Linked DNA regions of Homo sapiens: region 1 is linked to region 2. Evidence: promoter capture Hi-C in 16 types of primary human blood cells and fetal thymus (Javierre and others, 2016). All regions are on one chromosome and are shown on one strand. The core of a region is centred on a gene start or on the middle of the fragment in contact, and the rest is flanking DNA. Distances in the headings are between cores, read along the strand shown. Region 1 overlaps PIGK (phosphatidylinositol glycan anchor biosynthesis class K). Region 2 holds the start of USP33 (ubiquitin specific peptidase 33).

Evidence for each region. Contacts are between HindIII fragments. The CHiCAGO score rates a contact against its expected background, and 5 or more counts as called.
Region 1: a fragment that was not itself captured here is called in contact with the fragment with the promoter of USP33 in region 2 in 1 of 17 cell types (monocytes); the score reaches 6.6 in monocytes.

What each region holds. Positions count from the first base shown.
Region 1 is chr1:77,141,035-77,147,235 of GRCh38, forward strand. All of the region lies in intron 9 of PIGK (phosphatidylinositol glycan anchor biosynthesis class K), which reads right to left. Among named protein-coding and RNA genes, the nearest start is that of PIGK, 75 kb to the right of the region's middle. The HindIII fragment of the contact is 6,890 bases long and covers 1-6,201 here.
Region 2 is chr1:77,754,938-77,761,610 of GRCh38, forward strand. It overlaps USP33 (ubiquitin specific peptidase 33), which reads right to left and starts at 4,915. Exons shown (of 24, transcript NM_201624.3): 1 at 4,706-4,915. RefSeq lists an enhancer at 1,462-1,511 and a silencer at 4,825-5,104. The HindIII fragment of the contact is 6,279 bases long and covers 1-5,672 here.

The DNA of each region.
Region 1 (6,201 bases), core at 2,029-4,528, 620 kb before region 2:
TCTTGCTCCATCTCTCAATATACATGCTCTAAATATACACATCTTTGCTATAAAGAAATAAACATTATAAAAATTAGATATATTAATTTTAATAAAACCCAGTTTAAACTGCTTACCAAGTATCTCTGAATCTCTGGCTGGCAATATAGTTCAGGCCAAGCAAACTAAGTCCATTACTACTTGCAGTGTAGTACAATATAATTCTCAGCCAGCACACTTAGTTATCATGTGACATAGGTATTCTGAGATCATATCCTAAGAACTCTTATATTTCATTATTTTGTCTGCTCTTTACTTCTTGGGAAATCATACTAGAACATATTAATATTAGAAGCTGATGCCATCAGATAAGGAACAGAGAACGGCTCTTAATATTGAAGTTAAAATGAAGGAACTGAAAAAGGCATTCCATACAATATAAGCTGCACGCTTCCCTTAGTAAAAGTACTTTCAGAATAATAAGTCACAATTTCATCAAATTAAAGAAAGTACCAAGCCTGGAATATCTTTGAGTATAACAAGAACTTTGTATATAATGAATGAATTTAAAGCAGAGAAAGATGGAGCATAATACAGCTCGTCAATGTTGGTAAGTCCCCTGATTTTCCTTTATTTTTATGAGAAAAATAATTTCAAAATGAAAATCTTTAATTACTTGATAGTAATTTATCTATAACATCTGTAGAAAAACATACTTTAAACAATATTTACTATATTAATTTAATAAAAGCTCACAAAAATAACCTTACTTTGACTTTTTAGGTCCACTTTGGCATTATTCAAAAAATTTTTATTATTAAATTTTGATTTTTTTGATTAAGCCCTGAGAAATCAGCTTTCTAACAAATAAAAGTTAACAGCTGTGACCCAAAATTGGTATCCAACATCAAGGATATCATGAGCAAAGATCACAGATCCGTATCATTTACCAGGTCCATTTTTCCCCCACAATAAAAGCCATAAATAGTTCAATACTAATATGGCAATGTCAGAATGAGTATTAAAAAAGACTAATAGGCTATAATACTGAATTAACACTAGTAAGATAAAAACATAAAGAAATAGGCATAAATCCTGAAATTGAGTTGTTTTTTGTTTTGTTTTGTTTTGTTTTTTAAGTCAGCTACACTGGTAAGTATGGGAAAGTCAGGCTAATAATAATTCCTGTCAGAATGGGCTATAGATGGCATGGCTGATAAAAACACAAATCAAGCTATAGAAACAGAACTATAATACACCAAATAAAGATGGCATTGTATTGCTCATTGTATCTCTTGCACTGGAGGAAGACATCAATATGACTGTGATGAGTTTTAGATGGCACACTTTTAAAAAGGCATTGACAAAGTATGTTCATTTTATATACACTACCTTCAATCTTCAAAATAACTCAGAAGGTAGAGAGTAGATCACCCTATGACAGATAAAGTATCTGAGTCTTAGAGAGATTAAATAAGGTACTGTATTAGTCCATTTCACACTGCTATAAAGAAATATCCAAGCTGGGTAATTTATAAAGGAAAGCATTTTAATTGACTCACACTTCCACATGGCTGGGGAGGCCTTAGGAAACTTACGAACATGGCAGAAGGCAAAGGGGAAGCAAGGACCTTCTTCATATGGTGGCAGGAGAGAGAAGTGCAAGCAGGGGAAAGGCCAGACACTTATAAAACCATCAGATCTTATAAGAACCCACTCACTATCACAAGAATGGCATGGGGGAAATCACACCATGACCCAATCACCTTCCTCCTTCTCTCCACACATGGGGATTACAATCCAGATGAGATTTGAGTGGGGACACAGAGTCAAACCATATTGGGAACCCAAAAAAAGCAAAATTTGAATGCAAGTCCATTCATCTCCGTGCTCTTTCTACTAGATCATGTTGCCTTAAAAGTTTCTTCTAGCACTAGGAGGGGGCAATTTGGCCATACTTCACTTGTAGAATATTTGAAAACCCAGTAGCAAGGCACACCATTATGCCAACAAAAATTGACATTTCTGAAATGGGATTACAGATTTATATATTAATGTAAATGTCTTTTCCTTCTTGTTTTACCTAACAGCTACAATCCTAAAGTGTTATTGTATAAATCAATTTTTAAAATGGAATACACTTTCCCCAATGATAAGCTAGAAATAAAGATTGTCTTATTACTAATTAGTAATAAATAATCCTCACACACAAACACCCCTTAACTTTTTTTGACCCTTCAATTTCTTGGTCAAGTATTTAATAACATGGAAACTAATATCTAAAAATATGCCATAAGTATCTGATAGATTCATCTATTTCATAGATAAACTTCCATATTGTTAGGTTTTTTTAAAGCCTACACTTACATATAGAGAGAAATTTTTACCATCCTTTATAAAAAATTTTTGTGACCCAAAATTGATATCCAACATAAAGGATATCATAAGCAAAGACCGCAGGTCTGTATCATTTACCAGGTCCATTTTTCCCCCATAATAAAAGCCATATAAAAAAATTTACATATAGAGAGAAATTTTTACCAACCTTTATAAACTGACAATTCAATATCAAAATTATTTTTCTCTACCAGTTGCCTGAAAAAACAACAATCATAATTTATTTGAAGGTATAACCTACCTTGATCGCCAGCATTTAAAAATATTAGACAGTTCCCTATATACAAATATATGATACTACTGCCATCTTCTGGTACAACACAATTTCCAAATTCTGTATAGTATTTCTATAAATGAGAATCCACCAAATATGAAATAACTAGTTTATATTACTGAAAGCAGAATTGATAACCAGCTAAATGGCTAAAATGCAGTTCAAATAGAATTCTAGCAATAATTAATTTTTATCAGTGTGTGAGATAAGTTCTCTCAATAATACTTAACACTTACTGAGTGCTTCACTATATTTGAGGCATAGAATTAAGTGCTTTCTAAGCAAAATAAAAATTACTTTAATAACTATATGAGGTAGAGTTATTATTCTCATTTTACAGATGCAGAAACTGAGGACAGAAGAGGTCCAGTAGTTTTCCCAAGGTTACATAGCTAGTAAACGGCAGAGGATCTGAATTTAGGAGCTTATTGATTCCAATGACTTTGCTTTTATTATTATATTGTAATATCCCCTATAATGTCAGATAGTAGACAATAAGTAAGTCTGTTAACTCATTTAGAATGGTAAGATTTAATTTAGTGGAGTGGAACAATAATATTACAATTAGTGCAAAGATCAGAAGAGTCACATAAATCAAAAAGACATAAATCAAAGAACTAAAAGAAACCTTAAGGGTCTCAGAATTTATTTTTCCATATGATACAGAACTTTATCGTCTAAAAATCCAAATGAATTTGCCTCTAATTGTTTTATAAATATCATATGATTTGTAGATTTTATACAATCAAAAAGTTTAGGTGCTATGCATTTAGTGTTTAAATTAAAATTAACTTTGCTTTGACATATTTAAGAATATTAATAAACATTAGTTGGAAACTACTACTCCTAGTAAACATATTTGCCAATTTATATTTAGAGATGTTTTATTAACACAAAGGGATATGGTACTATGTTGTGCTATACTATTTATATATACTGATTTCTTAGAAGTCATAAAGCAACTCAATAGACGCTTTTGTTAATTACAGATAGGGCAGTGAAATAAACTGCTAAAAAACAAAAACAAAAAACTACCCATGATATGACCAATCCATTTTGAAACTATAACAATAAGAACTTTATCCATATGCAAAATGACAAAATGAGTAATTTAATTATGTTTTGGTGCCTTTATAAATTAAACGAATCACATCTAATTTCTGAAATTTCATTTTAATGAGCTTTTGAATAACTGAAGTGACAAACAGCTGTAAATAACAATATAAAATAAATGACAAAATAAAATGCTGAGATAATGTGGAATTATACTGATGAGTAAATTAATCACTTTGAAAAATATAGTAACATGTAGAAAAGTATAGGAGAAATCCTGTCAACTGTTACTTGAATCATTTTGGTGAATTTTTGGTTCATAAAGTTTTATAATTGTATCAATTTACTATCAGCAATTTTAAGCGAATCATGTGATCATAGTTTCATATTCTTCACAATCAATTTTACCCGAATCTCAAAGAGATGTTACTATTGAATATGTAAATTTAACTTTTGATTTAATTTCCTAGTAAATATTATAAATAGACTAGAATCCATATGTTCAATAATGTAATATATACTATAGTAGGTCCTTTACATTTCCATATAAATTTTGGAATCAGCTTGTCAATCTCTACCGAAAAATAAAAAAATAAAAAGCCTGCTGGGGTTTTGATTGGAATTGGGTTGACCCCAAATCAATAAGATCTCAGAAAAACAGTCAATATAAAATCAATTGTAATACTTCTGCATTTGAGCAACAAACAAATGTAATGTTTTAAAAATAACATACAAAATGTTTAGGAATAAATTTAATAAAATGTGTAGGAAATATCTACAATAAAACAATATAGAGAAATTACATGAGATCTAAATAACTGTAGAGATATACTCACGGATTGTGAGGACTCAATACTGTTAAGCTGTGATACAGCCCAATATAAAGTTAATTCAATCCCAATCAAAATCCCAGTAGGCTTTTATTCTTTTTCTTTTTTTACTTTAAGAAACCTACAAGCTGATTCATAAACTTATATGAAAATGCAAAGAACCTAGAACACTGAAAACAACCTTGAAAATGAAAAAAAAAATTTGGAGGACTTATATAATTTCAGGAGTTTCTATAAAACTACAATAATCAAGAATGTAATAGTGGTATAAAGATAGAAATATTACAATGCAACAAAATAAAGTCCAGAAATAGACCCCCAAAACATGATTTTTTGACAAAGGGATCAACATAATTCAATGAGGAATAAATACAGATGCTGCTCAACTTATGATGGAGTTATGTCCCAATAAACTCATTGTAAATAAAAAATACTGTAAATTGAAAATGAATTTAATACCATGATAAACCCACTATGAAGTCAAAAATGATAAGTCGAACCATTGTAAGTAAGTTGGAGACCATCTGTAATTTTTTCAACAAATGTTACTGGAATATTTGGATGTCCATATGGAAAAAAAAATGAACCTTAACCCCTACCTCACACAATACTCAAAAATTAATTCAAAATGGATCACAGACCTACACATAAAAGCTAAAACTATAAAACTTCTAGAAGAAAACAAGAAAATCCTAATGACCCTGGTTAAGCAAAGACTGCTTGCATAATAGGTACTAAGCATAAAGAAAAAATAAGTGGATTTCACCAACATTTAAATTTCTACCCTTCAAAAGACATCACTAAGAAAATGAGGCTTGGCACCACAGCTCATGCCTCTAATCCCAGTGCTTTGGGAGACACAAGCAGGAGGATCGCCTGAGGCCAGTAGTTTTAGATCAGCCTGGATAACATAGCAAGACCCTGTCTCTAAAAAAAATGTAAAAGAGGCCTGGCAAGATGGCTCACACATGTAATCCCAGCACTTTGGGAGGCAGAGGCAGGTGGATTGCCTGAGCTCAGGAGTTCGAGGCCAGCCTGGGCAACACGGCGAAACCCCGTCTCTACTAAAATACAAAAAAATTAGCCAGGCATGGCAGCATGCACCTGTAGTCCCAGCTACTCAGGAGGCTAAGGCAGGAGAATTGCTAGAACCCGGGAGGCGGAGGTTGCGGTGAGCCAAGATTGTGCCACTGCACTCCAGCCTGGGCGACACAGCGAGACTCTGTCTAAAAAAAAAAAAGTAAAAGAAAAATTAGCCAGGCATGGCAGCTTGAGCTTGTAGTCCCAGCTACTTGGGAGGCTGAGGTGGGAGGATCACCTAAGCCTGAAAGTTCAAGGGTACAGTGAGCTATGACTCTGCATAGGCAAGAGAGAAAGACCCTGTGAGGGAAGATGAGGGAAAGAAGGGAGAGACAGGAAGGAGGGGAGGGGAGGTGCATTAGTCTGTTTTCACACTGCTGACAAAGACACACTCGAGACTGGGAAGAAAAATAGGTTTAATGGACTCACAGTTCCTCATAGCTGGGGAGGCCTCAAAATCATGGCAGAAGGCAAAAGGCGCTTCTTACTTGGTGGCAGTAAGAGAGAATGAGAGGGGAGCAAAAGCAGAAGCCCCTTATAAAGCCATCAGATCTCGTGAGACTTATTCACTACCATGAGAACAGTATG
Region 2 (6,673 bases), core at 3,665-6,164:
GATTTTTAAAAATCTGTCCAATAATGAATGGCAAAATATGGTCAATTCTAGCCTTATCTCGTTGAAATAATTTTGAGAAATATTGGAAGAGAGAGGAAATAGAAATGAATTAATGAATATGACAGAGTTCTAACAGAGTCTCAAATAAGCTGATGATAATTTTCACTCTAAGTCTCACTTTTGAGCAAGATGAAGAGTTAATATACTGGCATTACGGAACAGTCATTAAAAATATTCATGTAAACCACATAGAAACATGGAAAAACCTAAATCTTCAGTTCAGCTTGTGAGCAAAAAGAAAAAAGAAAGAAAGAATATGAGAAAACAAATGCTATCACCATATTCAAATGAGAACCACCATAAGAAAAATTATCAATTCTTTTATTGTTTACCAGACTATAATATTGATTTTAAAACTAATCAAAACTGATTCATCTAAACACAGTAATGCTTCCATAAAAAATATAAGAAATTCCAGCCAGACATGGCAGCTCATGCCTGTAATCCCAGCACTTTGGGAATCCAAGGTGGGAGGGTCACTTGAGGTCAGGAGTTTGAGACCAGCCTGGCCAACATGGTGAAACCCCCATTTCTACCAAAAAATACAAAAATTAGCTGGGTATGGTGGCGTGCGCCTGTAATCTCAGCTACTCCAGAGGCTGAGTGGTGAGAACTGCTTGAACGCAGGAGGTGGAGGTTGCAGTGAGCCAAGATCGCACCACTGCACGCCAGGCTGGGCAAGAGTGAGACCCTTTCACAAAAAAGTAAAATATATAAGAAATTCCTCTTCTAGGATTTTATAAAAGTTAAAACCTGTGGGAAATGGTCTTATTTTAGGTCACATTCAGCCCTATAGTTTCACCACATTACTGTATTTCAGGACTGTGATAAGCCCTGGGGGATAGAAATTAATTTAACAAATGCTTATAATCCAGCATGGGCCAGACATTATAAGTTTGTGGGGATGGCAGCATTGTTCAAGTCTCCACCCTGCTTTCCTTTTGAATGACTGGTCATCAACACTCTTATCATCACTCTCCTGAATACTATGCAATTTTTTCACTTTCCTTAAAAAACTAATTTGAAAGTCAGTGTCCTTCTGTCAACCCTTCTTTTTCACAAGTTAACTAACTTTTAAACCTCAGTACCATCTTAGATCCCTCCTTACTTTTTTCATTTACTTTTTTTGAAATGGGAGGCTCTCTATATTGCCCAGGTTGGACTTGAACTTCTGGGCTCAAGCAAATCTCCTGTTTCAGCCTCCCAAGTGACTGAGACTACAGGCTCAAGCCACAGCACCTGGCTCCCCTCCTCACTTTCTATCAGTTTCTAAATTCGGCATTTTTTTTTTTAACCACATTTCATCTCACATTTCTTCTAGGTCTCTATCTAAATTGAGGCTTTTATTTCACATCTGGATTATTCAATGAGAATGCCTGTTAAGACACAGAGTTGATACCTGGACCATCTCCTTTCAGCTCACTTCAATGTTTACTTGTAGCTGGTATGCACAGTTAACACACTGACAACTTCCCATCTCAACTACTTCTCTCCTCAGCTCTCCAGCACCTCAGGAGCTTGCCAAGCCCTACCTAACCAGTGTACCTGGGAAGTTCTGGGAGCCTTTTAGATAAAGGCAATCTTTATCAGTGAGGATTGACTGTAGATGGAAAACCACCCAGCTCCCCTTCATTTGGGGCAGTTATACAAAACTCTGAGGCAGTTATACAAAAATCTCCAAAGGCTTAAGCAGCCTCCAGTTGGCCTTCCACTATTAACCTTTTTTCCTCCTTCTCTGATTCTACCTGCTTCCTCACTTGTGCTTTATAGCATCTCACCTGCACCCATGTCATCTCAGGTCCAAGTTCAAGATGCACTTCAGAGAAACCATAAGGGCTACAAAAATAATGGTCACAATCTAGCTTAACATAAAGCCACCCCAGCAGTCTTCCAGTCTCAATCTTCTAACAGTTACAGCTCATTTTCCTTTCATGTGGATCACATACCTCTTCTGATCAAACACCTTCAGTGAAGTCTTTCATAATTTGTCTTCTTTATCTATTATTAACTTACATAAACTATGAATATCAGCCACATTGTTCTACCGATGTTTTCTCAAATGTAAGTTGTACCCTTCAAGGAGCTCATTAATCTGTTCACATTACAAATATCCTCCAATATTTACCTTTCAAAGCTCACTCATCTCAAATACTACCTTCACCAAGCCCCAATCACAAGTAATGTCTACCTCACCTAAATTCCTAAGGAACTTTTATAAAAACTCATAAGGCATTTACTGTTGTGTAAAAAATTGCCTCACTTGACTACAAGTTCTTTGAAGGCAGAAACCACGTTTCATTCTTTTTGTTTTCCAAAGGGCCTTGTCCTGGTAGACTCAAAATATTGACCTAACTTAACCTTCTGAACATTTGACAGCATGATTTATTTTGATATACATATTGTTTCTTAAAGACTAGTTCTCAGTATACAATATAGCACATAATTCATGTGCCTTTTTATAGATAGTTAAAAGCAACTGTACTCATCTCACACTCTTTGGAGTTTTCCCACTTATCAAAATGTTCCTGCAGACACATGTACACTTTTAAAGTTTAAAAACTACACTAAATAGAGCTGTTACTTATTCCCTTCCTTTTTAGAAATGGTTACATTTCACATTTCTCACCAAAAATCTTTCAGCATTTTATGTACTTCATTTTCTTGTGAAGAGTCCACAGTCTTGTCATATGTTATAGTTCACAGTGCTCCAATCTTAATCTATCTGAATTCCCAATCTGTATCAAAAGCTGCTTTGGCAACATTATTTCAGGCTTTACGAAATTCTGATCCTTACACAATCTTGAAATGTTTCTGTCATGGGGAAAGACTTTATTTCTTGGCATTCGGAGCTCAGAGGACTGGCATGAGGATCAAGTAAGACTGTGTAAGTGAAAGGTCACAGAAAATTCTAATACTACTACATAAATGTAAGAATTATCATCTCAATTCTGAATTTCAAATATTTAAAATCACCTATTTACTACAATCTAATGTCATTAAACTGCAGTTATATAAAAAGACTTGCTTACTGTTAAGTTATAAAAAGTTCAGAAAAGACAGAAAAAAAGTGAAACTGGCCATAAACCAGATCATAAATAGGAAGCAATCTTAAGTAGACTATCCCTCTTGCACATATCAGGTCAAATATTTTATTCCAATAATATTTTTTGTACTGTCCTTTTTTTTTTTTTTTTTTTTTTTGAGACAGAGTCTCGCTCTGCTGCCCAGGCTGGAGTGCAGTGGCATGATCTCGGCTCATTGCAAGCTCTGCCTCCCGGATTCACGCCATTCTCCTGCCTCAGCCTCCCAAGTAGCTGGGACTACAGGCACCTGCCACCATGCCCGGCTAATTTTTTGTAATTTTTAGTACAGACGGGGTTTCACCGTATTACCCAGGATGGTCTCGATCTCCTGACCTCGTGATCGTCGGCCTCCCAGAGTGCTGGGATTACAGGCGTGAGCCACCGTGCCCAGCCCTGACCTTTCTTTCAATCCTGCCAAAGTAATGAAATAATACAAAGCTCCTAGCATTGTGTAACTATTTCTATTATTTTTTCATAAAACTAGCATTGTCTTTAAGATTCCTATTTTCTCTCTTATTTATAATAGTATGAATTCACTAACAATATTTGTATTATGCTCAAATCAAATAGCCTATGACGATAATGTGACTTGGTCAGACCTTTCCAAATAAGACAGTAGGAAAAACGGAACTAGGACGGCCTTGTTACTTTTTGTAACACGTTTTTCTTAAAGGAAAAATAATCTGATTAAACTTAAAAATTCTCTACATCCACATAGTTATTAAGCAAAAGGCCTAGAGATCGTTACGGTAAAATTCACCTTCAATTTAAGTCTATGCTCCTGCCAGAATTTCACCCTCTGGCTCAATTTTCCAGGCCTAATACTGATTCTATGAGAATGTAAACTCCAACGGTACTTGAGTGCAAAACACCCAGGAAAATCTCATCGTCCAAGAGCTCAACGTAAAACCCTGTAAATATTCAAATGAAGAGCGTTTTGTATACGAGAAATATAAGTAAAGGTCTGGGAAACCACACACTATGGATCTTTCATCCAAACAAAGGCTGCAGATGGACAGAAGGTAAGGGGTAACCTCTCAGTCAAGATCAAACATTGGTCGAAGAAAAATTCCAGGGACGATGACACCTCGGTTTTTCCGTTCACAACAACAAACAACGGGGCCGGCCCCCTCAACAGCGCCGAAAAGCGAAACCAGAACCCAGGAGCCGGCGCGCTGCAGGGCTTTCAGTCACCCACTGAGAGGGACTGGCAAGCCTGAGTGGGGAGACCGAGGAAGGGAGCAGAGCCCCCGCTTCTCGGGCTCACCTGCACCTCCCGCTTCCAGGGAAGAACCCCTGAGGACCCTTCCTCAAATCAACGACCGGTTCCCATCCTCCACCGACCGTTGACAGGGCGACCACTAGATTATCTCTGCAACGCAGAGCACCGAGGGGCCAAGGCCTTCTTCCCGCCCGCGAACCCGCCGCCACCCAGGACCAAGAAAAAGAGGCTGCTGCAGCGGCCGCAACCCCAGCGCGCGGAAGCGAGAACAGAGACCGGACCCCGGACGCGAGCGAAACGCCCTTGGGCCCCGCGCCCCTCCCAGCAGCGCCGCGCTCACCTCCACGGCCTGGCCCGCGGGACCCGCCAGCTCGACCAACAACGGCCTGCAGCCGCACCTCCGCAAGCTCCTCTTTTCCTTCTCAGCTCTCGGAGAGGGGCAGTGTCGCGTCAGGAGGGCCGGAAAACGGCCCCGCAGCGCTGCCCTCGGGGGGTCCGCCTCCTGAACTGGCCACTTCCCGCAGCAGCCGCGGCTCCTTCCGGTGTCTCCGGGGCCGCCGCAGGCGTCTCCGGCGATAGGGGAGGTGGGGGCGGAGCCTCGATGGGAGCCCGCCCCAGGGGCGGGGCCACGGGAGCCAGGCCCAGGTGCGGGGACCCAGGCCGGCTCCCTACTCTGACTGCAAACTAACTGTACAGGGTATGTGCAGCAGTTTGAGGCTGTGAGCTTTTTTTTTTTCGTTTTTCACATGTTTTCTCCTTCTCTTTCACAGTCACACACTACGACCATTATAAGGTCTTGTCTCGATGCATTACAAAAACTGCATTAAGGCTGGCCACTGAAGGGCCTCAGGTTTCCAAACTTGAGCAAAGAAATATTAGACTTAACTTATCCCAATTCAACATTGTATTTCCTCCTTTCATCTTTCTTCCCCCAACTTCTTAGGACCTAGATTCTCTGAAAGCAATTATGTTTCCCTTTTCCACCTATGCAAAGAAGAAATTTATCTCACCATTTTCTCCTTAGGCTAAAATCAAGAGGATCAAATCAAATATTTATTGAAACCTTAGTATCTGCTTAATGCCTGGAGCATGGAAGGAGTCCTGCCTTCTAATTATGTAACTGTTAAAATGCACTCGATTGAGGTTCAAATCTATGAATAAAAAAGGTTATATTAATAAAAAATTGTTAAAATTGCCAGTTTCAATCTGTCTCATGACATCTGACTTTTTGGTCTCCAAAATGGGAGCATGTACCAAAGTATCATGCAAGATGCTCAGTCTCCATTGGAATAGGTAGAAAATATAAAAGCTTCTACTTATTTTTATGGTAAAAATGAAATAAATTAACCATGATACAAAATTCTAGGTAGGGATTGACACTCAGGCCTCAATTTGCACCACAAATGATTGCCTATCCTCGGTTCACTGAGGAGAATAGAAATTTCACAGAATAGAAGTTTCACAGGCAGGCGCCATGGTTCATGCCTGTAATCCCAGCACTTTGGGAGGCCGAGGCGGGTGAATCACTTGAGTTCGAGACTAGCCTGGGCAACATGGCGAAACCCCATTTCTACTAAAAATACAAAAATTCGCCAGGCATGGTGACAGGCACCTGTAGTCCCAGCTACTCAAGAGGCTAAGAGTGGAGGATCACTTGAGACCAGGAGTTTGAGGTTGCAGTGAGCCATGATTGTGCCACTGCACTTCAGCCTGGGTGACAAAGTGAGATATTCTCTGGGAAAAAAAAAAAAAGATGCCGTTAGGAGATGAAAAGTTGTCTCCAGCCGGGCACAGAGCCTCACACCTGTAATCCCAGCATTTTGGGAGGCCAAGGCGGGTGGATTACCTGAGGTCAGGAGTTCAAGACCAGCCTGACCAACATGGTGAAACCCCCATCTCTACGAAAAATACAAAAATTAGCCAGGTGTGGTGGCGCGTGCCTGTAATCCCAGCCACTCAGGAGGCTGAGGCAGGAGAATTACTTGAACCCAGGAGGCAGAGGTTGCAGTGAGCCAAGATAGAGCCACTGAACTCCAGCCTGGGCAACAGAGGAGGACCCTGTCTCAAAAAAAAAAAAAAAAAAAAAAAAAGCTGTCCACAGAGGAGATCTACAGAAGAAAAAAAAAGAAGAGAGACAGAGAGAGAAGAAAAGTTAGGCCAGCAAATAGAATTTATTTGAAATACATATAATTGAAAAGGGGCTCAACTCCATATGTATTTCCAGAAATCAATTTTTAAAAAAACAGGCGACCAAATAGAAAAATAGACAAAAGTCACTTCCCCAGAAATTCTTCTATTGAAAATGTAT